Regions from separate parts of the Homo sapiens genome. Here regions 1 and 3 are each linked to region 2. Evidence: promoter capture Hi-C in 16 types of primary human blood cells and fetal thymus (Javierre and others, 2016). All regions are on one chromosome and are shown on one strand. Each heading gives the region's core, a stretch centred on a gene start or on the middle of the fragment in contact. The rest is flanking DNA. Distances are from core to core; before and after follow the strand shown.

Region 1 (3,351 bases), core at 230-2,729, 5.3 Mb after region 2:
TTTTTTTTTTTTATAAAAGCCAACCTAGGAATAATCAACCTCGGTACAGGAATTCGTTGTCATTGGTTCAAAAAATATAATGAATACAAAATAATGCCAGAATTATAATAATGAGCTAAATATACACAGTCTCTCTAATCACAGAGCATAGAGTTCAGTTGGGAGAGAGAACATTTTCATGGACTGTTATAATAAACCACAGTACACTATTACATGGTAGAGACATTGTATTCAGTATGGAACAGTATGAAAAAGAGCTCTAAGTAGAGATCTAAATGATGAATGGAGATTATTCTCGTGTAGGGGCAAAGAAGTGTATTTTGGGATTTCATAGGTTTAGGTTTTTGTTTTCTAAGAAAACGTAATGAACTCTGTTAAATAAAATATTTTAACAAAATGTATTAAATACAAGGCCTGGCACGGTGGCTCATGCCTGTAATCCCAGCACTTTGGGAGGCCGAGGCGGGTGGATCACAAGGTCAGGAGTTCGAGGCCAGCCTGGCCAACATAGTGAAACCCCATCTCTACTAAAAATAGAAAAATTAGCCAGGCATGGTCGCACATGCCTGTAATCCCAGCTACTCGGGAGGCCGAGGCAGGAGAATCGCTTAAACCCAGGAGGCAGAGGTTGCAGTGAGCCTAGATTGCACCATTGCACTCCGGCCTGGGCAACAAGAGCAAAACTCCGTCTAAAAAAAGAAAAAAAATTATTACATATAAATACTCATGTATAAAATGTCAGTGGCTGTTTTTGGAGTATTCATGCATTTGAAGAATTATTTTAACTCCTGATATTTCATTTCAAAAAACAGTCACCTAGAATAAGAATATGAACATTTAAAATTATAAATATTTTACAGCTTATACCTGTCTCATTCCTATTATAGTTGTTCAGTCAATATTGGATGGATACATGATAATATCTACATTTAAACAATGCTATTTTTTCTACTCTTGTTTTTGAACAATTTTAAACCATTAATATTAGTGAAAAACATTAATTGTGAAATAATTTCATGTTACTTTTCCTTTGAAGCGGACATTACTGTTAAAACTAGTATAACCAAGGACATCATATGTAAGTTTGAATAGTGAAAAATCTGAATGTTATTGTCAGTCAAATTGGCTTTTTAAAAAAAACTCCAAAAGCTAATAGTTAGAGCTCTTGAATTAAATAGCATTATTTAGCTAACTTTCTTACATTATTTGATTTTGGCTTTATTAAACCTATTTGTGATAGTTTGTCCAAATTATTTGCAAAGTTTTTTTTTTTTTAACAAACCCTATCTATTGTATTTACACATCTTTAAAATATGTTGGCTTGAATTCTTCTCTAAATATAAGCAGATAGGATTAAGAATAGGCTGTGGACTATTAGAATAGAAAGGCAGAAGCTACAGTTGTGCTGAAATATTTATGTACAATAATTAAATATACTCACACATAAGCCAGATGTGCAAAATAAAACTTGATACAGGATCAATGTAAAGGAAAGCTCTGTTTCATTAAGTGTCTGTAATGAATTTTGTTAAAGTTAGGATCTGTCATTATCTTGTGTCTTTTGGTTGTAAACACAGGCTAAGTGAAGGATTTAATGTACAGAGGTTCACGTGCCTTTTGTTCACATTCTTCCTCTATTCTTTTCAAATCTAACTCGGTGGGATTGTCATCCTTTGTAAAAAGAACCTTGGGTCAACATTCAGTAGAACCCTGCACTTGGAAAAGTCTCCATTTCCTTTTGAGAAGAAAATTAGATTGCAACTTAAATAATTTGCACAGAATGGTTTTACTTATTTTTTGTGAGTTGATATAGTAGGTCTAGTGTGTAAAACTTAGTTAAGGAAAGACAACTCTGGGTGTAGCAGGTGAGTGCATGCATGTTCACACCAATCTGTTTTGCAAACCTTAATAACTGACCCAAGGATAAAAACAATAATTTAGTAGTCACCAGGAGTTCCTCTTCCAATCACTATACTTGATTACTGTGTGGCCTCTTTATTGCAAGTTTTATTGTGTTGTGGCATCTGCCAATGGATGTATTAGAAACATCAATATTTACTCATATTTAAAAAATGAGAACTGTTTGCTTTTTAAAAAACATTAACCCATTTAAAAATATAAGTTAAAATGCATATTAGATATTTAAAAATATACTTAATGATTAAATGTATTACCATTAATGTAATTTTTCATTCACTTGACTGCAACAGCCCCAATATCTATTTTATAGTACCATCGTTAGATTCTCATGATTTATCTTCTGAAATATATCTGAAGAGAATAGTCAAAGAAGTTAGTTCTTCAAGAAACATGATATTCTAGGTTAAGTAGATTTTAACTGTGCTTGGAAAAAATACTAGTATTTTAAAATTACAGTGTAAAATTAAATATTAAAATTTAAACTGCATTGTTCGTGATATTGGGATCTTTTGACTGCATCTTAATGGTCTTAAATGTTGTAAATGTTCTTTAAACTAGTGTCCTCTACTAGATATAAAAGGCAAGTATATGCCAATTGGTTATCTAATTTTGCTAGGTGAGTCTTAAACTGTAAAAAAAAGTTTACAGGTCTCTTCACAGAGTCAAAACCTGGGCATTTTATTGCTTTCTAATGGCCATTAGGATGAAGAAGAGGCAATTAAATAGGCAATTAATGTAGTACTGACTTGAGCTCTCTGATTTTAGGTTCTTCAGAAGAGGATGAGGTCATTCAACCAGGTTTCATCAGCCCCAGGTTAGTCTTTTTTTTTTTTTTTAAATATTTTGTTTAATTAATGTTTTAAAAGATCAAGATCGCTAGAGGCATATGAGAACCTGACAGCCCTCAGGAATTCTCCATCCTTTCTACTTTGGCAAGACAGGTACCAAGTCCTCCTATACTTCGTCCTGATCACTCCATCTAAAAAACTGGTGTTCCCATAAGAATTACGTGGACAACCTCTTCTAATTAACCCCTTTCCCCCCACCCCCACTTTTAGCAGTATTGTATTTTGTGATTCCTTTTTCTGTAACTCAAGCAGCATAGATAACAGATATTTAAATGCTTATGGAGATGAATGAAAAGTATTCATGGTTTGTTCATTTTTGTAACTCCCAAAGTAAAATATGCACTAACGAATATCTGCTGAACTAAATTAAAAATGGAGACATGGTGCTGTTTTAAAATAATTTATCATAACAGAAATAGCACAATATATTAGACATTTTGAGGAAATTTTTCTTATCTAGGAAGCTCTGTGTTGCTTTTCATAAACATATATCAGAATTTGCTCCTCGTTTTCATATGACAAAGCTGAGTCATTTGAACTTTAATATTTTAAACCCAGACTTTTGACATGCTTTCTTATATTA
Region 2 (3,905 bases), core at 1-2,500:
ACCACTCAGGCCTCTCTTGGAAGAACTGCATCGGGCTCCGGTGCTGGCTGCATAGGATTTGGGGAGCTGTGCTCAGAACTAGCAGCACGCGGCAGGTGCCGGCAGAAATCACAAATATCTGATGAACTTGATTACTTGGCTACTATTTATGAAAATAAATGTTCTCACGCCAATTGGAGGCTTCCCTAAAAGAAAACGGGTAGCTCTCCGGTTTAACTCTGAAGTACAACGTCTTGTTAGTTCACAAAGTAGGTGTAAGAAAGAGTTGTCCCAAACGCCCACCTCGCCCCTCTTCTCTACAACCTTTAACAGATTGCGGTGATTTTCGTTTTTGTTTACTGTTTTTTTTTTAATAGAAAAGTCCAGGTTGCTGGTTTTAGGGAAGTTAGTCCAAGGACATCTTCTAGGGGACGTGATCAATAACCCACTGGTAGAACTTCTTCCTCTTCAACCCTGGGCTGCGGACCGGGGCGCAGGATCCCCATTCGAAACTGTTGGTTCTGGGGCTGTTTCCCATTCTCCAGAGAAAGTGCAGGCCCGGGGTGTGCCCGAGAAAAGTGATGAGCAGTTGACCTCCCCTTCTCAACTTGGTCTGGAGGCTTCATCATATTTTCGGACGAAATGGGACAGAAGTGAGAATTAAAGCGGTTCTGAATAGACGACTGGCCTGAACCCAATCCCCTGAAATGGTAATATGGTTGTTATTTAAAAAGTGTAGGTATTTTCTGGTGTTTTCCCATCAAGTACCTGCCTAATTTCTGTATGGCACACGCCAGAAATCAATAGTAGTTAACAAGTCCTCCAAACAGTCTCCATCTCTTTGTTTAATCTCCTTTACAATAAAGCCAAGGGGAGAGAATTAAAAATCTTTGAAGTAGATCAAGGCTCAAAGGAATCAGCCAAGTAGACTTAAAGTAGTCACTTATTTCCCAAAACTGGTTTGTCGGGGAACAATAAAAGGAAGTAAAATTTATGGAGAAATTATACAGTGGATTTGTCACTTAAAATATCGTAACTGTCTGGAGGACAATACCCCATGCTGAGGATTAATGGTCCCGCCGGACCTTTGATTCACCAGTGCCTTTTCTTCGCCCTTGACAAATTGGATTTTTAGGAATGGGAAGGTCGCCTGGACCATTGTGTGCTAGCCATTCAGCGGCCTCGATTATGCAGGGGGCTGAGGGAACCACTCCATGTGACCCTCTCGGGTGGGACTCTGCAGCTGCTTCGCAGCGCAACTCTCTCACCAAACTCCGCGCCCTTGCGCTAGCGGTGCCAAAAGGCTCCCGCCCCGATTGAAAAGGCGCAGTGCATGCCCGCCCGCGTCACTCCGCGGGCGGAGGACGCACGTCGGGGCGCGGCTCTCTGGCTAGCGCGCAGCTCCAGCTCTGTCACTCGCGCCCTTCCAAGGACCTGGAGCACCCGAGCGCCTGCCTGGTGGCGGCGGCAACAATGCACGGAGCCGCCAGAGCGCCAGCCACCAGCGTGAGTGCCGACTGCTGCATCCCGGCCGGCTTGCGCCTCGGACCGGTGCCTGGTACCTTCAAGCTGGGCAAGTACCTGTCAGACCGCAGGGAGCCCGGGCCTAAGAAAAAGGTATTGACCATTCAGACCTCTGCCCACTGCCATTCGCCTCTCAGTGCCCTGACCCGGGAAAGGGGTACGAGAGAAAGTGGAGGAAGGGAGTGATTGAGTCGTTACCTGCTAATTCTGCCGGGTGGAAGGGGACTCCTATTATTCTGAGCAAGTAGCCTCTTTAACTGTGAGAGCTGGACGGGGTCGGGCTGAGAGGAGAGGATGTGGCCGAGAGGCGACAGCCCTGGGTGGGGTGCACTGAGCGCTGTAGGTGCCGGGACCATTCGCAGCTTGTGTTTTCCCCTGCGCTCTCGGGTCTCCTCAGTCAGAAGCCAGAAGCCCACCCCCGCACGCTGTCCGCAGCTCTCTCTGCAAAAGCACCCTCTTTCTGGGGGCTCAGGGCATCGAGACCCTTTCTTCCCTTCTGCCCTTCAATATGTTAATTTGAGGCCTAATTTCGCCTTAAAGTAATTTTTTTTCCTGAAAAAAAAAATCTTTGGGAGGCTCTCAGTTCCTAGAACCTCCTCAGATATTTTTTTTTCCCTTGCCGATGTCGGCTTGTGGGTATGCGGCATATGGAGAGAGGATGAGCAAGGTACTGGCTCTGACGCGGGCTCCAAGGGCGAGGCGCGCCCATTCGCGCGGGGCACAGGGTCAGAGCGTCTGCAGCGGGGCTCTGAGAGTCCAGAGGCCCAACCGGGAGGCGCCAGGGCCAAACCACTAGCTTTGACTCCCACACTCCACACACCGTCGCGACCCCTGACCAGAGAGACTTATAGCACTCGCCCGCTTTGGGGGCGTCCCAGGAGCCAAAGGTCGGCAAACAGCGACCGGGAAATGAAGGCAGAAGTCTGGGGTAGAAGAAAGGACTTTGGCTTCCTTGGCTTTAGCTTGCCTTGCTTGGAGCTTTCTAGTAAAAAGCTCCGGTGTCCAGCCAGCGGGACTTGCACCTCGCTCCTCCTGCAATCACGCCCCCCACTACAGTCTAAAGCGGGGTTTGGTGCCCACCGCGCATTCCTCTTTAAACGCGTTTTAATTGCTTTTAAATGGCCTGCCAGCTGCGGGCAAGCTTTTCCCCGCTTGGGCTTTGTTCCGAGACTTTAGCTGCAGGGCTCACAGGCAACTAGGTGCGATGCACACAGAATACAGGAGGCATGAGATAATTTTTTTGTTTGTTTGTCGGGGGTACGCTCTGGGCCCTGGGACTGACCTAGAAATGTCTCTACCGTGGTGTTACGGCTGCTCTCAGAACTGCAAATGGGAGAGCTGGGGTAGGGGACAACTTGGTACAAGATGTGCCTAAGCACTCAGGGAGGATGCTCTCAACACCCCTCTCCCCTCCCCGTGTCGTCAAGGTGGGGCGCAGGGAAGTGGGAGTACTGTTAGCATAGGTAGACTTTCCTCTTTCTCCCTCCCCGAAGCAAGGTCCTAAGGAATTCTCCTCCTCCCAGTAGCCCATAGTGGTCTGGCCAAACCAAAAACAACCACTTTCCTGTGTTGGGTTGGGGTGGAGGATAAACTTTCTGTTTGGGTTGTGGGCCTGGCCAAGGTGCGGGGGAGAACGACCACTGCTTGTGTTGCAGGTGCGCATGGTGAGAGGGGAGCTGGTGGACGAGTCGGGGGGCTCCCCTCTGGAGTGGATAGGGTTAATCCGGGCAGCCAGAAACTCCCAGGAACAGACTCTGGAAGCTATTGCAGACTTACCCGGAGGACAGGTACTGCGGGCTTCTCTCCACACCCCCCCACTCCCCACCGCCAATTCAGTCTACCTAACCGTCCCTGCGGTGGCCAAAAATATTAAGAGCAAAGTACTTTAGCTAGACGTCTCATTTAAACGTCTCGACAACCCTTTAAGGTAGTTACTATTGTTTTTCCGTTTGAAGGATGACGGAAGTGAGGTTCAGAGAGCTCCAGTAGCTTCTCCAGGGTCACACAGCATCAGAATCCGGATTTGAACCTTTCTTCTCAGTTGCTTTTTGACCGATTACCCAGGAAATGACATTGAACTGTTCTATTCCTTGCGTCCCAGATCTTCTACCGAGCATTGCGAGACGTCCAGCCAGGGGAGGAGCTGACAGTGTGGTATTCTAACTCCTTGGCTCAGTGGTTCGACATCCCCACCACAGCGACTCCGACTCACGACGAGAAAGGTACCCATTCCAAAAGCGTGGATGGGCAAAAGTCCAGCCCTCCTCCTCCTGTCTTGAAGCGAGTCCCTAGACATAGCTCGATCTATGTAAAATGGAATTCACATTCCCTGTATTTCAAGGCAAAGAGGAGAGAGGTCGCCACTACCTCCTTAAAATCAACCATAAACGATAACAGTGATA
Region 3 (3,600 bases), core at 20-2,519, 8.6 Mb after region 2:
ATCCAGGCAGATCAAATTCAGCGATTAATTGGTCAATCTAATCATTGCCTTTTTCTCAGCATCTATGATTTGTGTCTCTAAGTATTGCTCCTGTAGGTCATATCATCCCTTCTATAAAACAGAGAGGACACCTCACAGGTTTCCTATACCTTGGAACACAGCAAATTTTAAGTACTGGCAGAAAGGGAATTTAGAAAAAAACCCTGTGAAGTAAAGGAGGCTGACGTTGCACAAATACTGAACTATAGTTTCAAGATGCACAAAACACTGTTCTTAATTCTAATTACTTCACTAGTAAGTAAGTGAAATTGCTTTAATTGGAGCTTCTAGAAGCCCTTCTGGGAAATGAGAGGTAGCTGGATGCAGTAGAATGCAGTGGAATGAGTATTTCAAAGAGCACTGGACTCAGCATCAGGAGATATGGGTTCTGGGGATGATCTCTGTCTCTCAGTGAGTAAGCAAGGACAAGTTGTCTCTAAGGTTCTCACTTTCCTCATCTATAAAATGACTACATTAGAGGAGTGCCTTGTAACTTATGTGCTCTGTGATTCCACGCTAAATGGAAGCCAAGTTAGACTGTGTAATTCACAGGAAATTAGGAGGCTGAAGAAAGCTTGGCAGCCAGTATCTCCCTGGATGTAGTCTGTGTTCTGCTTTCTTGTTTCTCTAGTCATTCTTTTGTTTTCAGAAAGCCAAAAATGACCTGCACTGCTTCCCAAGGTTTGGAGATTCAGAGGACCTGTCCCTGTTCCCTTCCTACCCCATTGCTGGGGCTGAGCAAAAATGAGCCCTTCACCTCAAGCTTCAGTAGCTTTCATTGAGTATCATCAGGCAGGTTCACTCATACATTCCACATTTACAAAGCACCACTATGTGCCAGGGTGCAAGGGACTAGAAAGATGTTTCTACTTGATTATTCTTGGAGCCAGAGAATGTCAAGATGCAGCGGGACTCTAGAAGCCTCGGAGTCTCAGCCTGACTTTAGAACTGAATTTTTGTCCAACCAAGGGTGTGAATAAATGCAAAGACATGACTTGTTATTTGTTAAGGTTGTGGGGTGAGGGGGGTGGTCACACAGAGCATTGTCTCCTTGTTGTTAGCAGCGTTCATCTTCCTACTTGTGGGGAGTAACAGACTACTTTTGGCAATACAGTGCTCAAAAGTGTCAAGAAAAACCCTGCAACTCAGGACCCACTGGATTCTAGAGAACAAGCGTCTCTTTTCTGGATTGTTCTTGTTTATTTGGGGGGTAAATTTGGATAAGAATCAAACAACTTGTAGAGAGATCCACAGCAGAATCAAGAGCAAGCCTGCAAACACTGTTTCTTTCATTTGGCACTTAGCAAGCACCTACTATGTGCCAGACACTGCTCCATGACCCACCTCCTCTCTCACCATCCACTGGGCAAACAACAGCCATAGGTTGAATTATGATGTGGAAGCAAATGCAAATCAACTTCCTCCTTCATATAAACAAACAAACAAACAAACAAACAAAAACTTGTGTCAGAATGTTTTTGGATACTAAACATCAAAACTCAGCCAAGCTCAGCTGGTAGGTTTTCCCAGCGATTTCCTTGGTCTGAGCATCTCTTAACTCTGCATATCGGTAAGGGGAATGGTATTTTAAAGGAGTGACTCTCTAGAGGTTGAATGGCCTCTGTGAGGGGTCGATCACAGGGGATTGGGGAAGGGGTCTCTTTAACACCAATTCCATCAGCTCTGCTAGCTGATGGGAAAGCTTGTCCTTTCACCTTCGGTATTTTAATTTAGAAGAATGTGTGTGTGTGGAGGGGGTGTTAATGGAAAAAATGTCACCGTTTTTAGAGAAGCTAGTGAATGGCAGGGCTAGCAGTCAACCTCAGATAGTCTGAAACTTTGAGGGGTGCTCTGTACCCCTGCCTCTCTCATACAACCTAGTTAATAGGATTCTCTTTAACAGGGCACTAGCAGAGGAATGAGCTATAATACAATACAGTCCTCAGAGGACTGTAGAATCAGTAGATTCTCCTAACACAAGGCCAGCTTTCCAGGGCAATTCTGGACAGCCTATGTCACCGCACACTGGTTTAGGGCTCCTTGTATATATCTCCAGTGTCCTGTGTTTCATCCCAATCTAAAACATTTATCATCTTTTATGTGTCTGCTCCCTGCTACATGGAGAAAGGAGTCATGTCATTAATCTGCTATATCCCCAGGGTCTGGCATATAGTGGGTGCTCAGTATTTGATGAGTGGGTAGATTGATGGATGGGCAGAAATACCCCTTGATCCATGGTCCTCTCATGATCTTATTTCCTATCTCTTGGACCAAAATGTAAACATCCTTCGATAAAAGAACCTTCCCTGCGTTTTAGGCTTTGGTTTTGGTTGAGAGCTCCATACTCACAAGCGCCTACAGAGGAAATTAGGGGCTATGTCTGAACCTGTTTAGAAGGGTTTCAGAACCTCTGAGGGTGTGGCTATCCCCACCACCTTCCAAAGCAATAAACTTATCCTTGTAACTTAAGGTCTTGTCTCTGTTAAAAGATAATTCTGAGCCAGATGGCATTTGCCCCTTATCAATCATTTCCTTTAATGGACTCACAGGAAAAAATCTTTGAAAGTTAAGACCGAACAGGGTGAGAATCCTTTTACAAATAACAATCTGGAACCCAGAGAGGTCTAGCCACTCGCCTAAGGTCACACAGCTTGTTGGCACAGCCCTGAATCCCTATCTCGTGGTTTCCAGCGTTTAGCCTGGCTGTGCCTCCAGTGGCCCCTCAGGGCATCTGCAGGTGACTTCCCTTCATTTGCCCAACATTTATGCAGCACCTACTATGAATCAGGCAGCATGCTGGGGCCTGTGGATAGAAAGATGAAGAGCCATAGTCTTTGTCCTGCAAAGGCTTTCTTCTCTGAGCTGTACCCATGGTAGCCCCAAGTTTCTACGCCTTAAATCCGAGGTCCCCCGTGGCCTGCAGCAGCTTTGCCTGAGTAGAAGGCAGCCCGCACTAAGGCTCCAGGCTTATTTGGGACCTGGTGGGCGACGGGGCCTCAGCCCCTCCCGCCTACCCTGGAGCTTGTTGCCGCCGTTACCACTGAACCAGTCATGCCAGAAAGTCATCACGATGATTTCAGAACTGTATTGTGATTTATGCAAAGCGCGCCGATAATTACAGCCGGGCGCACAGAACACAGGATGCATATGCTGCGGGTGTGTGCGCGCAGTGTTGTGCCTTTCGCCAGGGCTGAATGGGGTGTGTGTGTATTCCGTAGGCATCTTCTTGACACCATGCTTGATCGGGGACTGGTGACAGGAAAAAGAGGGAAGATACCCATTTTGATTTTGAGACAATTTGATGAGCCTTGGGAGTATTTTCCAGAAGTTTTGGTGCCTACAAATGAGCCAGCCTGGCAGGAGCGTTCGAGAGTAGGGGAAGAGGTGGTTTGGAGCCCAGGAAAGCCATCGTCCAGCCCCCGCACAGGCAAAGCAATTAGTAGTTCTCCTTCTCGAAACAGACCCCTAAATGCTTCCCCTGCAGACAGGCCTGGGTCTAGTCATCACCCCCCACACTGCCCTCATCTTCGCCCCAGATAAATTAGTTCCACCCTTGAAGTT

Evidence for each region. The method cuts DNA at HindIII sites, captures the fragments that hold promoters and counts their contacts. A CHiCAGO score of 5 or more calls a contact.
Region 1: a fragment that was not itself captured here is called in contact with the fragment with the promoter of PRDM13 in region 2 in 1 of 17 cell types (total B cells); the score reaches 5.5 in total B cells.
Region 3: a contact is called between a fragment that was not itself captured here and the fragment with the promoter of PRDM13 in region 2, in 1 of 17 cell types (total B cells). The highest score is 8.4, in total B cells.

The regions. Positions count from the first base shown.
Region 1 is chr6:104,947,776-104,951,126 of GRCh38, forward strand. It overlaps a transcript of LIN28B not described here. Among named protein-coding and RNA genes, the nearest start is that of LIN28B, 7.7 kb to the right of the region's middle. The HindIII fragment of the contact is 6,126 bases long and covers 1-3,351 here.
Region 2 is chr6:99,605,583-99,609,487 of GRCh38, forward strand. PRDM13 (PR/SET domain 13) reads left to right here and starts at 1,251. Exons shown (of 4, transcript NM_021620.4): 1 at 1,251-1,596; 2 at 3,159-3,290; 3 at 3,605-3,725. The coding sequence starts at 1,453. The HindIII fragment of the contact is 6,161 bases long and covers 1-2,642 here.
Region 3 is chr6:108,160,696-108,164,295 of GRCh38, forward strand. No RefSeq gene overlaps it. Among named protein-coding and RNA genes, the nearest start is that of NR2E1, 3.5 kb to the right of the region's middle. RefSeq lists an enhancer at 2,567-3,468. The HindIII fragment of the contact is 939 bases long and covers 801-1,739 here.